Linked DNA regions of Homo sapiens: regions 2 and 3 are each linked to region 1. Evidence: promoter capture Hi-C in human tissues and cell types (Jung and others, 2019). All regions are on one chromosome and are shown on one strand. Each heading gives the region's core, a stretch centred on a gene start or on the middle of the fragment in contact. The rest is flanking DNA. Distances are from core to core; before and after follow the strand shown. Region 1 holds the start of OSM (oncostatin M). Region 2 overlaps NIPSNAP1 (nipsnap homolog 1). Region 3 holds the start of CABP7 (calcium binding protein 7).

What was found. The method cuts DNA at HindIII sites, captures the fragments that hold promoters and counts their contacts. A contact is called where the count stands out against the background at its distance.
Region 2: a contact is called between a fragment that was not itself captured here and the fragment with the promoter of OSM in region 1, in 1 of the 25 tissues and cell types used here (lymphoblastoid cells).
Region 3: a contact is called between the fragment with the promoter of CABP7 here and the fragment with the promoter of OSM in region 1, in 3 of the 25 tissues and cell types used here (mesenchymal stem cells, small bowel and spleen).

What each region holds. Positions count from the first base shown.
Region 1 is chr22:30,265,528-30,268,185 of GRCh38, reverse strand. It overlaps OSM (oncostatin M), which reads left to right and starts at 1,335. Exons shown (of 3, transcript NM_020530.6): 1 at 1,335-1,420. The coding sequence starts at 1,387. RefSeq lists enhancers at 1,932-2,031, 2,092-2,171. The HindIII fragment of the contact is 14,267 bases long and covers 1-2,658 here.
Region 2 is chr22:29,567,852-29,570,509 of GRCh38, reverse strand. NIPSNAP1 (nipsnap homolog 1) reads left to right here. Exons shown (of 10, transcript NM_003634.4): 2 at 1-105; 3 at 303-348; 4 at 1,223-1,317. Among named protein-coding and RNA genes, the nearest start is that of NIPSNAP1, 12 kb to the left of the region's middle. RefSeq lists an enhancer at 1,036-1,330. The HindIII fragment of the contact is 3,498 bases long and covers 1-2,658 here.
Region 3 is chr22:29,718,669-29,721,326 of GRCh38, reverse strand. CABP7 (calcium binding protein 7) reads right to left here and starts at 1,324. Exons shown (of 5, transcript NM_182527.3): 1 at 794-1,324. The coding sequence starts at 902. CABP7-DT (CABP7 divergent transcript) reads left to right here and starts at 1,424. Exons shown (of 3, transcript NR_186695.1): 1 at 1,424-1,779. RefSeq lists an enhancer at 1-15. The HindIII fragment of the contact is 29,567 bases long and covers 1-2,658 here.

The sequences.
Region 1 (2,658 bases), core at 86-2,585:
TGCTCAGGCGCCCCAGACCCCATGCTCCCTCCAGCTGGAGCAGCTCAGGCCTCCCTGGCAGCCTCCAGGAGTCCCACCCTGACTCCCCAGACTCCTGAGGGCCTCCTCCCACCCGGGCTTCTTAGGGTGCAGGCCAAGGACCCTCCTCTGGGCCTGGGAGATGTGCTGACCAGGCAGGGTCTATAGGCCTGGGCCAGCCTCTTGGCCTCCCTGTCTGCCTTCACCCAGGCCTCAGTTTACCCCACAGTAAAGTAGCAGTTTGACTAGGGAGGCGCTGTTCCCAGGGCCCTTTCGCAGAGGACCAACCTAAGATCGCTATCTTTCAGAGAAAGTGAAACCTGGTCCCCAACTGTCAAGGCGGCAACTCCCCCTCCCCGGCTTCCCCTCTGAGCTCACAGCTTCCCCATCTCCTCCTTCCCCCATCCCGCCCCCTCGACAGCTAATACTTGGAATCAGACCTTCATCTTTGCTTTTTCCTTCAGAGGTCTTTTCCTTTTATGTCCATGCTGGCAGCAACCCTGTGAGGTGGGCTGGGAAAGGCTTTTCTCCTCCTCATTTTATAGTTGTGGGTCTCTGAGGCCCAGAGAGGTTAAGTGACTTGCCTCAGGTCACACAGCACCTCAGCAGGCTTGAACCCTGGCCTCCTGTTTCTCTTGCTCCAAGTGTCCAGTTCTCCCCAGTGGAGCCTGCCTACAAAGACAAGGCCTGGCTTTGGGGAGTGGGCCTGGCAGAGGGTGCACGATGGGGGAAAGGAGACCGTCGGGAGCCGGGCTGGGGGATGCTGGTCCTGGGGCCTGAACCACAATCTCGGGGCTGCCAGCCTGCGTCTGGCTCTGTGCCCAGAGCCCGGTGGTTTCCGCTCACAGATGTCCCAACAGCCCCGGCGAGAGGGCAGGAAGGGCACTCAAGAAGGAAGATGTCTCGCTCCCCTCAGCCCCCAACCACCGTGTCCTGTGAGGCCAATGGCTCCTGGGCCAAGACTGGCCTGGGGCCTCCAGAGGCCCAGCTCGAAGTCCCTCCTGCCCATCCCTGGCCCAGTTCCCTGAAGATGGCATGGACCCTTTTCCTCCCCACTCACCCTAGGAAGGCTGAGGCTGCGGTTTTACATCATCCTTGGGCGTAGGGCTGACCTCGAAGAACGAATTCGAAGAAAACAGGAGGAGGAGCGGGCATACACCGCGCCCTGCGCCCATTGGCCGCCCGTGGAAATTTTGGTTTTTGGGGTCATGTTCCCAGAAGGCCTGCCCTCCCCCCTCCCCATCCCCACCCACCTCATGAGGTGTTGGCCAATCGCCCCAGCGGGCATAAAGTGGCTGCCAGCCTGCAGGGCTCCCAGCCGAGAGGTGTCACCCCCAGCGGGCGCGGGCCGGAGCACGGGCACCCAGCATGGGGGTACTGCTCACACAGAGGACGCTGCTCAGTAAGTACTTCCTTCCTCCCCGCCAGAACCCGCCTGCTGGGTCTGCCCACGGGTGCCGGTGGGGAGCAGAGGCACCCTCTGCCCTCCGGGAACTGGGGAGGCCAGGCGCCAGGCAGAAGGATGCTGAGAAGGGGAGAGAGCCAGGAGGTCAGGCAGAGAGAGTGGTCCACTGAGAACCTGGCATCTCCACAGGTAGAGAAGGGGCATCCCTGGAAGGCTTCCAGGGGGAGGTGATGTCAAGATGTAGAGGCAACTCTGGGAACCAGGGGGTGAGAGAATAGGATGGGCAAAGAGGCTGGGCAGGAGAGGGAGGCTCAGAAGCTGGGCAGGGAAGTGGTGTGAGGTGTGGAGGGGTTGTGGGGCCTCCAGCTTGCCCGGGATGAATAGAAAGTCAGCCAGGCCTGGGGGCCCCAGGGCCCACACAATCACACAGCATGCACAGCCACACCCACATGGCCACATGCGCACACAGCCATATGACGTCATCTACAGCCCTGGATCTCACCAGCCCAGGAACCCCCACATGCAGACCAGAGTCCCCATGGTGAACGGAACAGGTCTCCCTCACGCCGCACACAGACCCAGATGCACAGCCACACAGAAACCCCAGTCCCACGTGCGCTGCCACAGGCACAGGCCCCTGCCAGAGCCCGGCAGCAGATACCTGGGGAGGCGGCGAGGGTGCCGTGGGGTCGCTAAGCCTGGGTGCCTGGCCCCTTGGCCCTCCCCAACAGCCAGTCTTCCCCAAAGGGCCGGATGGTTCTTAGGACGGGAACGATGGTGTCACTGCCTTCCGGGCCATTGCGCCATAGGCCCCTTCCGACCACGTGGCTGCCGGTGCCCCGTTGGGGGTGGTGGTGAGCGGTAACTGTACCCGCCCCCAACACCTTCTGACAGGCTCACAGCATCCCTGGTGGGCCTGACAGAAGGAGCCACTTATGGAGAGAGGAGGGAGGCAAGAGAGGTCAGGGGAGAGCCCTGGCCTTGTGTGACCTGAGTAGGACCTTCTCCTGAGACTTGGTTTACCTGTCAGGAAAGTGGGGACATGGACTGGAAGGTCTTCCACATCTGTTCCAGGCTGCACCTCTGGTTGAAAAGGCAGCCTCTCCTGGTTCTAGACAGAGCTGAGGACACAAGCTGCTCCCGGGCTGCCTGCCCTGAAGCCCTCTCAGGCCCATCTACCTGGATGGCCAGAGCAGCTGACAAGGCAGGTCCTAGGGCAGTGGCCGGTCTTTAGC
Region 2 (2,658 bases), core at 67-2,566, 700 kb after region 1:
GCAGCTGGTTCCGCTCCCTCTTTGTTCACAAAGTGGATCCCCGGAAGGATGCCCACTCCACCCTGCTGTCCAAGAAGGAAACCAGCAACCTCTATAAGATCCAGTGTGAGTGGCTGCTGAGCTGACCAATTTCTGCCCTTTCAGGGGCTCTGGGGGCCTGTGAGGCTCCAGGAAGGAGATGGGAGGGTCTGGAATGTCCTCAGCTGTCCTGGGACCCCTGGCCTTGATGGGCTCCCCTCACCCCAAGTTCTTCCCTGTGTACACACCCTACCTCACTTCTTGTTCTCTGTCCTCTGTTGCAGTTCACAATGTAAAGCCTGAATACCTGGATGCCTACAACAGCCTCACGTGAGCACCCTGCATCCATACATCCCATCCCCTGCTTGGGTGGGGAACACACTTTCAGCAAATTTGCGGAACATCCTCCACCCTGTTCTTTTCTGTAGAAATCCAGGAGATGTAGATTTCTTTTATTTCTGCCTTTTTCTTTCTTTCTTTCTTTCTCTCTTTCTTTTTTTTTGAGATGGAGTTTTGCTCTCGTTGCCCAGGCTGGAGTGCAATGGCGCGATCTCGGCTCACTGCAACCTCTGCCTCCCAGGTACAAGCGATTCTCCTGTTCCAGCCTCCCAAGTAGCTCGGATTACAGGCATGCGCCGCTAAGCATGGCTAATTTTTTTGTATTTAGTAGAGACAGGGTTTCACCATGTTAGTCCGGCTGGTCGCAAACTCCTGACCTCAGGTGATCCACCTGCCTCGGCCTCCGAGTGCTGGGATTACAGGCATGTGCCACTGCGTTTGGCCCCATTTTCTTTCTTTCTTTTTTTTTTTTTTAAGAGATGGTCTCCAGGAGGCGGAGGTTCCAGTGAGCCGAGATTGCGCCATTGCACTCCAGCCTGGGCAACAAGAGCAAAACTCTGTCTCACACACAAAAAAGAGAGATGGGATCTCACTTTGCTTCCCAGGCTGGTCTCAAACTACTGGGCTCAAGCAATCCTCCTGCCTCAGCCTCCCAGTGTTGGGATTACAGGTGTGAGCCACTGTGCCCAGCCAGGATGTAAATTTCAGTGTCGGAAGTCCTGAGGGCCTCTTGCCTAGCTTCTGCATTTTAGAGATGGAGAGTCTGAGGCCCAGCCCCAGGGTCTGTTTGAACTGAGTTTGAACCCTTATCTCAGAGGCCCTGGTGGCTATGTGAACCCTGCCCCTCTCTGCACCTCCCCCACAGGGAGGCTGTGCTGCCCAAGCTTCACCTGGATGAGGACTACCCATGCTCACTCGTGGGCAACTGGAACACGTGGTATGGGGAGCAGGACCAGGCAGGTAAGGCGCTCACCTCCCTAGTGCCATTGCCACTGCCCAGCCCTGGCCTCCAGCACCTTTCACACCTGGCTGTTCTCCACTCCCTCTCCACAACAGCACCTGGTGGGGCTCTTACTAAAACCTCATCACCTCACTCCCCTGCTCAAATACCTGTCCTGGCTCCCCTGTGCCCTCAAGGTGACCCGTGAAGCCTGTGACTCCTTCCCGGCCCTGCCCCCAGCCTCATGGCACCAAATCCTCCATGCCTCGCTGTGCTGTCCCACCCAGGACTCAGTTCCTCAGATTGACAGTTTCACTCTTTAGTTCCAGACTACTGCTCATTCTCTTTCTTCTGCCTTAAGCATTATTTCTTGTTTGCCTGCTTTACCTGGATCACTGTCTTTTATTCTTTTTTTTTCCGAGACTGAGTTTCACTCTTGTTGCCCCAGGCTGGAGTGCAGTAGTGCAATCTCGGCTCACTGCAACCTCCGCCTCCCCAGTTTAAGCAATTCTCTTGTCTCAGCCTCCTGAGTAGCTGGGATTACAGGCATGTGCCACCACGCCCAGCTAATTTTGTATTTTTAGTAGAGACGGGATTTCACCATGTTGGTCAGGCTGGTCTTGAACTCCTGATCTCAGGTGATCCACCTGCCTCAGCCTCCCAAAGTGCTGGGATTACAGGTGTGAGCCACCGCACCCGGCCTTTTTTTTTTTTTTCTTTTTTCTTTTTTGAGACAGGGTCTCGCTCTGTCACCCAGGCTGGCAGATAGTGGCACAGTCTTGGCTGACTGCAACCTCCACCTCCTGAGTTGAAGATATTCTCCTGCCTCAGCTTCCCGAGTAGCTGGGATTACTGGCCTGTGCCACCAGGCCTGGCTAATTTTGTATCTTTAGTAGAGATGGGGTTTCACATGTTGGTCAGGCTGGTCTCGAACTTCTGACCTCAGGTGATCCACCTGCCTCGGCCTCCCAAAGTGCTGGGATTACAGGAGTGAGCCACCACTCCCGGCCTTTTTTTTTTTTTTTTTTTTTTTTGAGACAGGGTCTTGCTCTGTCACACAGGCTGGAGTGCAGTGGCATAATCTTGGCTCACTCGAGCCTCAATTTCCCAGGCTCAAGCAGTACTCCCACCTCAGCTTCCTGAGTAGCTGGGACTATAGGTGCGCTCCACCATGCTCGGCTAATTTTTGTGTTTTTTGGTAGAGACGGGGTTTCTCCATGTTGCCCAGGCTGGTCTTGAATTCCTGAACTCAAATGATCCTACCTCCTCGGCCTCCCAAAGTGCTAGGATTGTAGACATGAGCCACCGTGCCTGGCCTTTCAGTTTTATTCATTTTTAAATTTTCATTTATTTATTTATTT
Region 3 (2,658 bases), core at 75-2,574, 550 kb after region 1:
GGACACACTGTCCCGGACCCCTGCCCCTGCCCTCTGCTCTGACCTCGCCCAGCCAGCGGCCTGCCATCCCCCTGCGAGTCTGAGAGGCAGGGGGAACGGGGTGGGGGCGGGTTTGGGTCCTGGCCTCTCTGCCTTTCCCTTCCAGGCTTGGCTATCGCGACTTAGCCGCCCAGTCCGGCCACTTGTTGTCGCCACCGCCTCCCGGGCCGCCTTCCCGGCGCGCCGGGCTGGGGGTCCCCGCAGGGCTGCAGGGAAGGGGCTACGGCCGCAGGTGGGGACGGGGGCGGCCCCGCAGCGGGCAAGAGCAGGGCAGTCGCCCTCTCCCCTTCTGCTGCTGCCCGAGCAGATTGAATTTTTAAAGCGACACGAGCGGAATGTCAATGCGAGCAGAGAGCCGCGGGCGGGCGCCGCGGAGGGGATCAGGATGCGGGTGCTCCGGCCGGGCCGGCGCTGGGGGCTCAGCGCGGACCCCCGCCCCAGTCCGCCGCGTTGCCGCACCGTCACCGCCGACTGCGCGGCCCCGTGACCCCGCTGCGGGGCCCGGCAAGTTTCCGCAGCGCTGGGGACCACGCGGGCAGGGGCTGGGCCGCTCTCCGCCTGAGCGACCCCCACCGCGGCGCCCCGGGGTGCGGACAGGTCTTGCCGCGGGGCACAGCTGCTAGCTGGGGCGCCCACCTGGCAACCGGCACCTGCGGACCGCCCCCCGCCCCCCGCCCCCGCGCCCCTGGCCCGCGCTTCACCTGGGCGCACAGGTAGGAGGGCCGCCGGGGCGGGGATCCCGGCGGACACTCACCCTCCAGCTCGTCCTCCGGGATGTCCACCGGGCGCTGCTCCGACAGCAGGTTGGGCACGGTGTAGATGCCCCGGTACATCAACGCCGCCGTCACCGGGTGGAACGGCATCTTGGAGGCTCCGCGCCCGCCCGCCCGCCGCAAACTTTGAGGCCGGGGCTCATGGGCCGGTGGCGGCCCCGGGGGCGGCTGGAGCGGGCGGGGCGCGCGGCTGCGGAGGGCGGCGGCGGCAGCGGCGAGGCTGGGGACGCCCCTCCGGGGGCCTAGCGCCCCCGCGCCCCGGGCCGCCGGGCCATGCCGCCCGCTCCCTCGTCGGGCTCCCAGCCGGGGCCCCGCAGGGGCAGCGGGGGCGGCGCCGCTCTGGCCTTTCCGAGAGCTCCGGCTGCCTCGCGCGGTGCCCGCCGCGCCCGCTCCTCGGTGCCCCGCGCGCTCCGCGCTGCTCGCCGCCCGCTAGTCCGCTCGCCGGCGCGGCCGCTACCGGCCCGGCGCTCAGGCTGTAGCCGCCTCTCCGCTCGCTCGCTCGCTCGTTCTGTGCCGCGCTGGCTGCGCTCCCCGCCTCCCCCGCCAGCCGCCCGCCCGCCCCCTCCGCGCTCCCCACCCCCAGCCCGCCCCTTCCCGCCGCCGGCCCCTGAGCGGCCGCCCCAAACCTGCCCGGGGCTCCTTCTCCCCTTCGGCCCCGATTCCCCTTTCCCACTAGGGCTCCCCTCTGTTCACTGGCTCTCCTCACCCTAAGTCTGCAGCCACCAGGACCAGGGAGGGGGTGGGTTGCGGGGGTCCTCCTTCCTGCCCCTTGGCTCACCTTCCCCCATCCACGCACCAGGAGCGGAGAGCCCGGAACTAAGAACTGTAGACCCAGAGAGGTGAGACTGGCCCCAAGCACCTGGGTCCTCAAGAAGAGTCACCGTTTCCGTGCCAGGAGGATCCAAGGTGGGGAAACTGAGGCTGAGAGAGAAGGACGTTGACCAAGGTCACAGGGCAGGAGCAGCAGGTAAGAGCTGGGTACACGTCTGGGGTAGGCTTCCTGCCCTGCCTGTGACTGACACCCTGCCGCTGACCTTGCTCCCCACAATGGGGCCCCAGTCCCGGACCCTTCCCAAGCCCCTACCTTTCAGCTTGCAGAAGAGGAGCCAAAGTGTCTCATGGCCCCCAGGGCAGTTCGGGACAGAGACATGGCCCGGTGCCTGTGGGGTCTGGTGTGAGGGCCTGCCAGTTCACATGGCTGCAGCTCAGACCTAATGTATGTGCAGGGCTTCCCCAGGCCCCAGGGCACGTCGGCACCCCAGAGCTGGGGTGGGGGCAGGTGTTTGAGGGAGCAGCCTGCGTGTGCATATGTCTGCTATCCATGAGGGTGTGTATGTGCCACTGGGCACGTGCGCAGGTGTCTGTGACTCCATATGCAGATGGACAAATGTCGGGAGTGTGTGGCCACCTGTGTGTGCCAAGGTTGTACGCTGGCAGGTCGGGGGAGGTGTGCAGGCCCTGGGGCTGGGAGTGGTGTGGGCATATGGTGCACAGATGTGCATGGGAGGGGGTGACCTTCTGGCCTGGCTGTGGCCCCATCTCTGGGTGCTTCCCTGAATCCCCCTACTGGGACCACCTCCCTGCCCCCTTTGGCCCAATCAGCTAAAGGTCCCAGCAGGAACGCTGATTGCACAGCCCTGCCCGGTCCTGCCCTGCCCTTCCCAAGCTGATTACACTTTTCTGCTTGTTTCTGTTTTTGTTACTGATTAATCGCAGCCTTGTCTCAGGGTCTGGGGAGAAGGGGCTCAGTGAGAGATGCTAGCCCCAGCCAAGCGGGGTTGGGTCAGCCTGGGCCCAGCACTTCCTGGGCCCTGCTCTGGAGGGAGCTCCTAGAAACATCTATAAC